3 separate regions of the Homo sapiens genome follow, and regions 2 and 3 are each linked to region 1. The links are contacts of gene promoters, found by promoter capture Hi-C in blood cells and fetal thymus (Javierre and others, 2016). All regions are on one chromosome and are shown on one strand. Each heading gives the region's core, a stretch centred on a gene start or on the middle of the fragment in contact. The rest is flanking DNA. Distances are from core to core; before and after follow the strand shown. Region 1 holds the start of KLHL2 (kelch like family member 2). Region 2 holds the start of HPF1 (histone PARylation factor 1). Region 3 overlaps PALLD (palladin, cytoskeletal associated protein).

Region 1 (3,932 bases), core at 1,044-3,543:
AAATCAGAGTTTACAAATACAATCTCCACCCCGCCCTCCAATATTTGTTCTTTCTCAATATCCCCAATCCCAGTAAAGGGCAACTCAATTCTCCCCAGAGATCAGAACAAAACCCTTAGGATCATCTTTCTTTTATATGCTAATCTGTCAGCAGTTCCTGAGTACTTTACCTTCTAAACAGATTCAGAACCTGTTCACTTTTCTCAGTCACTCGGACTCTAATCCAAGCCATCCTTACCTTTCATCCCAGCTAGGCTAATCTCTTTGCTTGCTCTCTTGCCTCGCTATGCATGTTGCCCATACAGCAATCAGTCATCTTTTTTTTTAAAAAAAACTTTGTATTATGAACTTTTATTTATTTATGAATTTTGAGACGGAGTCTCGCTCTGTTGCCTGGGCTGGAGTGCAGTGGCCCGATCTCGGCTCACTGCAACCTCCGCCTCCTGGGTTCGAGTGATTCTCCTGCCTCAGCCTCCTCAGTAGCTGGGATTACAGGCACCCACCACCACACCCGGCTATTTTTAGAAGAGACGGGATTTCGCCATGTTGGACAGGCTGGTCTTGAACTCCTGACCTCAGATGATCCGCCCGCCTCGGCCTCCCAAAAAGTGCTGGGATTACAGGCGTGAGCCACCGCGCCCGGCCCATTATTATCTTTTAAAACATACACATAAACACACATAAATGATGACCACCCCTATGCACCCAACACTTAGCCTCAAAAATTAACATTTTGCAAATATTCATCTATTCACTTCTCTGTCCTTTTTTTTTTTTTTTTTGAGACGGAGTTTGTTTCGCTCTTGTTGACCGGGCTGGAGTGCAATGGCACGATCTCGGCTCATCGCAACCTCTGCCTCCCTAGTTCAAGCGATTCTCCTGCCTCAGCCTCCCGAGTAGCTGGAATTACAGGCATGCACCACCATGCCCGGCTAATTTTTTGTATTTTTAGTAGAGACGGGGTTTCTCCATGTTGGTCAGGCGGATCTCGAACTCCCGACCTCAGGTGATCGGCCCGCCTCGGCCTCCCAAAGTGCTGGGATTACAGGCGTGAGCCACGGCGCCCGACCTCTGTCCTTCTTTTTGTGGGATATTTTCAAACAAATCCCAGAAAAGTCATCCTTTTAATGATCAGATCAAGCTACTCACCACTTTCTAATTGCTTCTAATCTCAGTAAAAGCCAAGTCCTTTATCACGGCCTGCAAGGCCTGGGTGATCTGTGATTACTCCTCGCCACACCCATTCCTGCCGCCGTCCTCCTGACCTCACTCTGCTTCATTAGAGGGTCTCCCACCCTCGCGGCCCCAGCAAGCATCATCTGGAAAGCTTGTTAAAGCACACGCTGCTGGGCCCCACCCCCAGAGTTTCTGGTTCAGTAGGGCTAAAGTGGGACTGGAAAATTCGCATCTCTAACAAGTTCGCAGGTGCTACTGCTTCCAGCGGGCATACTTGGAGAACCACCAGCTGCACTGTTCTCCTTCCCGTTCCTCAACAAGGCAGGCAGGATCTTGCTTAGCAGTCTCCACGCTGCTCTTCCCTCTGCCCTAGGCATTCTTTGCATTACTCAAAGCCCCTGTTATTCCATCTCTTTAACTCATGCCTTTTGAGAGGCCTTCTCTGACCACTCTTTCTAAAATCTCTTTCCCTCTCCTCATCCTCATTTATGTTTCTTCATGGTAAGCATCACTTACTGTTTCCGTCACCCCGTCTAGATGGACAGCTCCACAAGCAGAAAGACTTGGTTTTGCTGTCACAGCCGCAGCACTAAAACCTTGCTTAGCAGGTGCTCACTTCACTTGTCCAAGGAATGGCTAGCATACTGAGGAGGGAGAGCCTGCTTCCTGCCTGGGACACTGGACAGGCAAATCACTTCTTCTTGCCTCAGTGCCACCCTTTGTAAGGACACTGGTTGGTTATGCCTACCCTTCCCATCTCCCTGGGTACAGGCACAAATGAAAAGAATAACGTGTACACGCCCGCGAAGCAGAGCAGCAAGTGGATACCGAGCATTATTACGCCGTGCGTTCGGCCGCCCTTTTTCTGCACGGAGAACCCCCTCCGCTCCCATTTTCCAGCGCCCCCGTCCCGGCGATCCAGAGACCCGCTGTGGGCGGCCGCCGCCCGCGTCCCGGCCTGCGGGCCAGCGTCTGGGCACGCCCGCCCCGCACCCGGCTGGCGCCCGCCCGCCCGCCTCCAGAAGCAGAAGCGGCAGCGGCAGCGGCAGCAGCAGCAGCAGGAGGAAGGGGAGGCGCCGAGGGAGGGGTACTCGGCCGCCGCGGGAGGCCGCATCGCAGTCCCGTCACAGCGTCGGCGCCGGCCGGGGCCGAACCCGGAAGTGGCCGAGCCCGCGCGCCCGCCGGTCCCGTCGCCGCCGCCCCGCACTCGGGCGAGCGCGGGAGCCGCGCAGTAGACGGAGCGCGCCCGGCCGAGCGGGCCATGGCCGCGGGGGCCGCCGCCGCAGGTGGTGGCGCGCGGTGAGGAGAGCGCGGCGCCCCCTCCGGGGCGGATGGAACGCGGCTCGGCGGGCGGGCAGTGCCGGCGTCCGCGGCTGGAATGGTGCTGGCTGTGTTGGTCGGTGCCTGCGTTCTGAAGCCCGAGAGGAGCCACAATGGAGACGCCGCCGCTGCCTCCCGCGTGAGTGAGCGGGCGGGCGGGCTGCGCCGCTGCGGATAAGCGCGCCGCTGCGGCGCGTGTCGCCGGCCGCGGGCGCAGCTCTGGGGACAGCCGCCGGGGCCGGCGGGAGGTGGGAGATGCGGGGCGTGACGAGGCGCTGTGCCCGCAGTCCTGAGCGGACGCGGACGGAAACTCAGCCTGGCCAGGCGGTGACTTAAAACGCTGCCCAGGATTTCTGGGGAAGGGTCTTCCCCATCTCGGGCGGATAGAAGATTCGGGGTGGGGCTGTGCATGGGTGACCCTGCAGGTCCTGTGTGTACCTCCCTGAAATGCATGGGCACCTGGTGCCGAGTTTGCCTACCCCTTTATAAGAGATCAGGCTAGGATGCACTGAGTCCGTTGAAAAAAGGAAACTGGAAAGTACCAGTCACCCGCTGTCTAAATGAATTGATCTTAGGTTGCTTGATTCCCCGAATTTCTAACAAAATTAATATCTGAGGAGCTTTTGCATCACTCTAAATGAGCGGCGGCCGTTCAGGGCATGTGACCTCTTTTACCTGGCACTGCAGAACGTTTTATCCAGAAATCAGCATCTTCTGTTTCGTTCGTACCTCGGGCAAATTAGTAGCGTATCGACCTGCCAGGCACAGGTGTCTTTTTTCTTTGGTACCCAAGTACATTCAAGATCACTGGCAACAGAATTACTTTCTAGAAATAATAGCTGAAACATTATGTAGAAGACATTATTGCATTATTCAGAACAAGGGTTTTTTTTTTAAATTTTAGTTTTTAGTTTTAAAAACATCTTGGTAAAAGTGAACTGTAAATACCCAGGAGTTTCGAAAATTTCAATTTTGGTTCCCTCTTCTCTTAGGAAGGAACAAGAGTCCTTTGAATCTGACTTTTCAAATCGCAGACAAACCTCATCCTGAAGAATGGTTTACCTTTTCATGAGAGCTTATTCATGGAGGCTTGTCGTTCTCCGGTCAAATTTGGCAAGCTTCACTCCATGCCGATTGTACCGCACCAGTCTCTTGTGGTTATTTGGCAGAATTCCAGCCAAAATAAGGATACTTGGCTTGGGTTGAATAATTTTTTGATGTTCAGCCCTTTTAGGAGAGCTAATGGGATTCTGGAACGACAGTTTCTAAAAGTGCGTTTCAGAATTTTTAGCTTGAGTGGAACAGGTCGTGGAAATCTAGGGGGTAGATAAGACTCTTGAATTGGCCTTCCTGGGCTGACAGAAGCAGGGGCTTAGTCACCTCTCGATAGCTGTGGCTTTGAGGGCTCTGAGATTTGGTCATGTTCTTCAGCAGGC
Region 2 (3,932 bases), core at 453-2,952, 4.6 Mb after region 1:
AACTGAGGTTAACCTCCCTACGTCCCTAACTAGGAAGTGGAAGAGAAGGGATTTAAACTCAGGTTTAAATCTGGGTCCACAGCAGATCCTCAACCACTTCACTATGCTGCTTCTCCAACATCAAATATAGAACAGTAGGAACATATGAAGTCCTGAGCTATCCTATCTTCTGTTTTCATAACTGTCTTTGTTCAGACGTTCAAAGACTGGCTCCAACTTAAGATGTTAGAAAAGGCTTAATCTGCCTTGCTGAAAGGCAGTTTTGCATAATAGTTAGGTTGCCTGGGTTGACTCCTGACTCTACTGATTTCCAACCTTAGGCAAGTTACTTAACCTCTCTGTGCTTTGTTTTCTCATCTGCAAAAAGGGCATACAGTGCCTATATCGGGGTTGTTACAAGGAATGTTATTATATGTAAAAATACACAGAACGGTCCTAGCACATAATATACAAATGCTGGCCATTACGGTTATAGTCTCTACAGACTCATCTTCATTTCTGTTATTGTATTTCTAGTTAAGCACATCACTCCACCAAAGCAGTTCTTCACTGCACCTTCAAAAAGAGAATTTTTTCAGCTGTGCCTTTACTCACACACTAGTTCAGCATCTCCATAGCCCTAACAACTAGGATTTAGAACAGCTGTCCCCTTCAGAGGCTACACTTCTTCTTTACCCTGGTCTTCCTAGAATGCATGACCCAATATGAAGGATGCCTATACCGATGGCCCTTTAACAGTTAGTTAAGCCCTCTAAGAATGTCTCACCCTGTCCGATTTATGACACTACCAGAGTAACTTTTCTAAAACTTTAGTTATCACAATGGCACTTCTTTCCTGATTCCCCTTATTGCTACTGTAGTGGTTACAGAACTTCCGAAATCGTAGTAAAGTATGAGAATGCACACACTCTCTCCTCCTCCCCTCTCAGTAGTGCTTTTATGATCAGGTCCCTCTTATTTTCCCATTTCCCTGGCTCCAGCCAAGCCGAACGCTCCGCTACGCCCAAACATCTCCTACAGTTTTATGTCTCAGAATCTTACTTCTCTGCCTTCAAAACCAATTTTCAAAGAGTTGTCTTAAAAGTCTTCTTTAACACCCCCTGGGACTTGTTAAATCCTCCTTCAGTGTTTCCATAGCACTTTCTACACACCAGCGTTATAATCCCAAACAAAAAAGTCACAGTAGAATGCATATTTGCTTGTGCCCCTCCTCCCCAGGCCGAGGGCTCAACAAGCAGCAGGAGCAAGCAGGTTGACCCCCAAATCCGCAGCGCCCCACAGAATGTCAGGTATGTAATCGGTTCCCAATCAATCTGGCTGGGCGAATGAACCATTGGTTGGCTTAATCCGTTTCCCCAGGAAATGCTCCAAGAGGAGCTGGGCAGAAGATGCAGAGGAGCTACTTTCCTGGTCCAACCCCCTGCAGAGCGCGAAACAGCGGCCCTGGGCAGGATCCCCGCAGCAAACCGCAGCCCCTGGACACACAGCAAGCTTAATAGTCACTGGATGAATGAAAAGCGCTGCCTCCTGGTGCCCTGGCTGTCACCCAAAGCGCCCCGCGTAGCCCGCACAGCCTTTCCGGCAGTACCTGCGGCCCCTCTCCGCCGGGCCTGCGCTTCCCGCCACCGCCGACCATTCTGCAGCTGCAGCGCCAGCAGAATTCCCCGATCCGCGGCCGCTTCCGAGCGCCGCCAACCGCTTCCGGGTTCAAAAGCCTCCAAGCCGAATTTCAGCGCCGCCCGGGCTCGCCAATTTAGGGGAAAGGCTCCGCCCATTCCCCGCCCCCTGAGACCTGGCACCGGACGCGTTGAGGCCCCGCCCACTCCCGTGCTGGGCGCGTGCAAGGAGCGTCTTCTGTCAGCGTAGTCTGCATCTAGGCTTTCTGGAGCATCTTCCAGGGTCGCTCCAGAGACCCCCCAGACTACTGAATCTGAATCCTTAGAGTGGTCCAACCTTCCTCTTCAGGTGTCTACTAGAGGCAAGGTTGGATGTATGCGGCTGTTCTCAATACAGCCCCTTCCTTGTTTTTTCTTCATTTATATTTACTTAAAATATTAATCCTTTTCTCCTTCTCCTCCATCCCTCTCCCTACCCTACTGTACGGTTATTGGCTTACACTAATTCATTCCCGATTGTCTCCAAGAAGGAAATAAATGTCTGTCGGTCTCTGTCTCTGTACCGTCGTCTTCTTGGTACAATTTGGACTGTTTTTCCTCTACACCGCTGATATGCAAAGTGTAGTCCCTGAACCAGCGGCCTCAGCATCCTGAGGGAATTTGTTAAAACGCCAAATCTCAGGCCTTACCCAGACTTACTGAATCAATATCTGCATCGCAACAAGATCCCCTGGTAATTCCTATGCACATAAAATTTGGAAGGCACAACTCTCAACTGATGTCCTTGGACCTCCTTCACATCCATCCTGGGAAGGTCTTATTCCTCATTCCTGAGATGAGTTCTCTATTTCCTCAATCTGGGTGTTCCTTTTTCTTGATTATATACCCTCATGTTGTGGAACATATCCGCCAATAGTTCCTTGAGAGAGGTTGCTGCCAGGTCTTTTTTCCCACAGAGTGTGCATGTCTGGAAATGTTTTTATTCTGGCTGAGCACAGTTCTAGGTTGAAAATAACTTTCACTCGGAATATTGGAGGGCTTGCTCCGCAATATTTTAGCTTCCAGAATTGTTAAGAAACTATGTCGTTATATTTCCTTCTCCTTCACAGGTCACTAAATTTCTTGATATGTAACCTGCTTTCCTTTCTGTTTTGTTTTGTCTCAAGAAGCTTTAGGATCTTTTCTCTGTTTCCAGTGTTTTTTGTTTTGTTTTGTTTTGTTTTGTTTTTTTTGAGACGGAGTCTCGCTCTGTTGCCCAGGCTGGAGTGCAGTGGTGCCACCTCAGCTCACTGCAAGCTCCACCTCCCGGGTTCACACCGTTCTCCTACCTCAGCCTCCGGAGTAGCTGGGACTACAGGCGCCCGCCACCACGCCCAGCTAATTTTTTTTTTTTTTGTATTTTTAGTAGAGACGGGGTTTCACCGTGTTAGCCAGGATGGTCTCGATCTCCTGACCTCGTGATCCGCCCTCCTCGGCCTCCCAAAGTGCTGGGATGACGGGTGTGAGCCACCGCGTCCGGCCTATTCCCAGTGTTCTAAAACACTATTGAGTGTCTTGGTTATGGGTCTTTTCTCATTCCTATCGACCAGTTTTTCAATCCTGAAACACATGTTCTTCAGTTATGGGAATTCTTCTGGTATTATTTATTTGATCATTTCTTCCCCCCCACCCCCCATCGTATCTCTTCTTTTTTGAAATTTGTTATTTAGATCGTGGACCTTCTTGGCTGATGTTTTTTCTTACCTGTCTGTCCTATTTTCTATGTCTTCATATTTTTATTCTACTTTCTCTGTGACTTTCTCAACTTAATTGGACAATTACTTAATTTCTTTATTATACTTAATAAAGATTAATTACTTAATTTCTGTATTATACCTTTATTTCTCAGTGCTCTTTTTATTCTCTGTTCTTTTATAGCATTACATTATTTTTCATGAATATAGCTCCTTTTATCTCTGAAGATGTCAATTATAGCGTTTTTAAAAATGCTTTCTACGTAACTCTGCATTGACTTTGATTCTTTTGAGTCTTTTTTGGTTGTTTGTTTGTTTACATTTGGTTCCTGTTGTTTCTGCTAGAGGCATTCTTCATCTTGTGTGGTGATCCTTGCTGTCAATTTATATGTAAAAATGAGGCTCTAAAAAGGTGCTTTGGGGACATAGGCAAGGCTTGTTTACTGCTGGACAAGGTGTAAGATGATGGGGAAAGAACCAGCTGTTTATTTTCTTCTAGAGAGTAATCTTCTAATTACTCACTTTGAGAATATACAGACTTCTTGGAGCCCAATGCAGGAAGGAGGCTGGGAGTCTTAATAAT
Region 3 (3,932 bases), core at 794-3,293, 3.3 Mb after region 1:
ATAAAATAAAATAAAATAAAAAAACTTGTTCCTCCACTTGTAGCATGTAAGTTAATGGTACCAGTCATCTGGTTGTTGAGGTGAGAAACCTGTAACCCTGCCTCTGCATCACCTCTGCCTTTAATCAATTACCAAGTTCTTTCCTTTCTATCATCTATCTTATGGACCCTGGACCCACTGCTTCCCTGAATCACCAGCTCTCACTTCAGAGTCCAAGAAGGACACATCTAATCGCTGTCTAGGCCAAGTGCCAAGACTTGTGCCCAGTCTCCAAGCGGCTGGGAAAGAAAATACTTGGAGATTTCACATCCCATTACAAGTGAGTTCAGTTTCTCACTGAGCCTCAGAATATGAGGAATTCTCCAAAATGAAGACGTCCAGATGACAGCAACACCAAACGTGAAACCATGATAAATGTGTGCACCCCCTGGATTACTGCACAAGCCTTCTCACGGACCGCCCTACTGTCAGTCTTGTCTTCCTCTTTCCCTACCTCTGTCCCGGATCCAGACTGCAATCAGTTATCTCTCAAAAATGTAAGTCTGGTGATGTTTCTCAAGGACTTAACACTCTTCCTTGCCTACTGACTACCCATAACATAAAATGCAAGTTCTCTGCATGGCTCCAGGCCCTCTCTGACCTAACTCCTGCTTTCTAGCCTTATCTCTGGTTATTTTCCCATCTCCAGATAGATTTCTGTTTAGCTGAAATGCTTAGTAGAATTACCTGAGTCTGCCATGTGCTCTCTGGGATCCAAGTCTTAAAATACATATTTGCCAGTATCCTCTTCACCTCCCCGCTCTTCCTCATCCCTCACACATCATTCTTTCAGCTTTCTCTCTTTCACAAAGGTTTCCTGATCCTGACCTTGCTGTTGCTTCTAGGTGCTATCACAGCACTTTGTTTTTCTATACCACTGCAGGATGACTATAGCTAACAATAACATACTCTATAGTTTCAAATGGCTAGAAGGAAGATGTTGAATGTTCCCAACACAAAGAAATCATAAATGTTAGAGATGAATATGCTAGTTGCCCTGATCTGATCACTATAAATTGTACGTATTGAAACATCACTAGGTACCCCATAATTATGTATAATTATTATTTGTCAATTTAAAAAATAAAATACAATTTAAAAAAAGACATACTCAATTATATAAGCTTATTATTTAGTTGTAATTTGTATTAAGTTCCATGAGGGCAAAAACCTTCTCTTTTTCAAGGTCATATCCCCGTCCCTAGCGCACTACCAGGCATGTGGTAGATAGTCCATAAATACACTTCGAGTGGGTAATTCTGGTCCATGTAGTACATCTATCCCAGCTTAGGCTTCACAATTTCGTCATGTCAAGAATCAAAGGTTTTGTTGCAATTATTTCCTTGGATTTTCAGCTTAATCTACCACAGGTTTGGTTGACACAAAATGTTTTTCAATCTCCTTTAGCACTGATTTCAACACAAAAACTGAATTTCTTTCAGGCCATAATAAATAAATAAATAACAAATAAAAAACACAGTAGCTTTCTTTCAAAGAAAAATAAATTTTACAAGAAATGCAATAAATGAAAATATAGTCTGTTGTGCCTTTGGTACACAAACCTACTTTCAGCCCCCGAGTCTCCCCCTCTCCACCTTCATGTCTCTTCTGGATCCATGTTACCTAATGGCTCATCTCCCCACACCTTGTAAGAGTTGATCCTGATCCTGGCTTCCCCTAAAGTTATCTACCATGTGTGCTGACTGAGGGGCCAATTGTACTTCAGAGCTCATTACTGAGAGAAACCAGGCTGCCTTGGTAGGACAAACTATAAAACGTTTTGCAATATACAAAATGGTACTGGGTGTCCTTGCAATAGACACCCAGTACCATTGCTGGATTGGCTCTGGTGGACGTTCCAGGGTCATCTAATTCCACAGGGGTCTATGCCTTTTATTGTCTTTACAATTTTACAACTCTGTAAGTTGGAAAAATCTAAAAACAATGCAAATTATACTGGTGCATAGATATACAAATGATTTTTTTTCTAGTAGAAATGCTATAGTTTTCCACTCTTATGATTCCAAACATTGTATTTTATTGCTCTATAGATATTAACCAGTTTCAAATCTATTACCAACTTCATATCAGCATGCCTGATTGCCTACATGTGTCTCATCTTCAGCGTCTCCTTTGAAATAATTGTAATATATTACTGATTTTTTCAATTGTTAAATAAAAGCTCAAATACATGTTATTTGATTTTTATATATTACTATACCTTTGCCTTTTCAAAATCATACTTTAACTGCCTGTTTCTCATGAAGAAAATACATTCAAGTATTAAAAATACACTGAATATAATTGTTCCTCATATACGAGCCATATCTGAATAACTGGAGACCAGTCAGGATGTTTCTATCCTGCAGCACAGACTGGACAAAGGAATTAGAGTGATATTTGGGTTAGTAAAGTCAGGGAGAATGATGACACCCTCTGAAGGATTAAGGATTTACTTGAAGAAGAGTGCGAAATATGGTTCAGTAGATAGAGTAGGGCTAGCATGTGGTGAATCTAATAATTCAGGCACAAAAAAAGTAACTATCTTTCTAAGAAGACATGTAAGACAAAAGTACAGTATTCCACTTAAGAAGATGGGGTATGTTAACATTGAGTTTCAGGATCTCTGATTAACTACCCTCTGTTAAACAGCAGGTCTATGACTCACTGCATCCAGTGAAGCAGTAGGCTCTTGAGCTGGATTTCTACAACCCCCTCGACTCTTGCATAATGTATTTTGAAATTAGAGATTTTCTTAGATGGGAAGATACTTCTACGCAAGCAACTCAATTCAGTCCTCTGAAGACACACCATTTCTGGGGAATGTCCCACCAAGTTTACTCCTGACTGACACAAGGTAGAAAGTTGAGGTTCACCACATCCAGGAAGCTTCCATTATTCACTCCTAGACTCAGTCTTGTGGCAGACATCACCGCTGATGTTTTCTAGATCGTCCCTCTCAGTACTCTATGAACAATATATAGCAAAAGAATGGCACACTTAGAGTAACAAGGAGTCATTGCTTCACAATATAAAGTTCAAAATGTCAGTGGAATTTAAAGCTGTAATAGCTTACAGATAATGAAATACCTTTTATTTAATTCTGCTGATATTCCCATGTAAGTGTTCTATGCCAGGCCTCTAGTTATCTCATGCCCTTTAAGATTAGATTAGACTCTCATAGCCCCCAGGTTTTTCTCACTTTCCTTAAAAGCCTTATCAAAATTTTATATTATTAACATATTATTTGTTTAATATCTTCTCTATCTCCTCCACTTTACTACCTCCCATGACTTTTAACTCCTTGAACATGATAACTGTGCTGTAAGTCTGGATGAAGGGTCAGCAAATTTCAGCCCCTGAGCCAAATCCATCCCAACCCTTTTTGTATGCCCTGCAAACTAAGAATGTTTTTCTCATTTTAAAACTATTGTTTAAAAATTAAATATCAAAATAATAATAGTTTTAACACATTAAAATGATATAAAATTCAAATATGAGTGTCCATAAAGTTTTATTGGCACACAGTCATGCTCATTCATTTCCATCATCTTTGGCTGGTTTCATGCTCATGCAGAGTTGAGTAATTATAATAGAGGCTGAACAGCTCACAAAGTCAAGAGTATCTACCATCTGGCCCTTTCCAGAAAAGTTTGCCCATCCCTGGCATACAGCACAGCTGTACTTCCAGCACCTGAAATTTAATAAGTGATTATTACCATCTGTTGGACTGTTGAGTGAATGAATATGAATGCACATAACTGGAGACAATAAAGTTTCAAAGATTTCACTGAAAACTATAAATAAATGAAAATTGGAATCCTTAAAATGCATTTTGTGGTTTAGGGTTGGATAATCAGAGTCAGATTTACTAAAAATATCAATATTCTATT

The links. Contacts are between HindIII fragments. The CHiCAGO score rates a contact against its expected background, and 5 or more counts as called.
Region 2: the fragment with the promoter of HPF1 here is called in contact with the fragment with the promoter of KLHL2 in region 1 in 3 of 17 cell types (total B cells, non-activated CD4 T cells and activated CD4 T cells); the score reaches 9.2 in total B cells.
Region 3: a contact is called between a fragment that was not itself captured here and the fragment with the promoter of KLHL2 in region 1, in 1 of 17 cell types (activated CD4 T cells). The highest score is 7.1, in activated CD4 T cells.

Annotation. Positions count from the first base shown.
Region 1 is chr4:165,205,268-165,209,199 of GRCh38, forward strand. KLHL2 (kelch like family member 2) reads left to right here and starts at 2,294. Exons shown (of 15, transcript NM_007246.4): 1 at 2,294-2,635. The coding sequence starts at 2,610. RefSeq lists an enhancer at 1,915-2,415 and a silencer at 1,946-2,595. The HindIII fragment of the contact is 2,287 bases long and covers 1,326-3,612 here.
Region 2 is chr4:169,756,242-169,760,173 of GRCh38, forward strand. HPF1 (histone PARylation factor 1) reads right to left here and starts at 1,703. Exons shown (of 8, transcript NM_017867.3): 1 at 1,589-1,703. The coding sequence starts at 1,636. LOC107986240 (a long non-coding RNA gene) reads left to right here and starts at 1,822. Exons shown (of 3, transcript XR_001741529.2): 1 at 1,822-1,983. RefSeq lists an enhancer at 1,551-1,620. The HindIII fragment of the contact is 1,294 bases long and covers 1,490-2,783 here.
Region 3 is chr4:168,507,163-168,511,094 of GRCh38, forward strand. The region is part of intron 1 of PALLD (palladin, cytoskeletal associated protein); the gene reads left to right. All of the region lies in intron 1 of LOC107986198 (a long non-coding RNA gene), which reads right to left. Among named protein-coding and RNA genes, the nearest start is that of PALLD, 12 kb to the left of the region's middle. The HindIII fragment of the contact is 1,765 bases long and covers 1,162-2,926 here.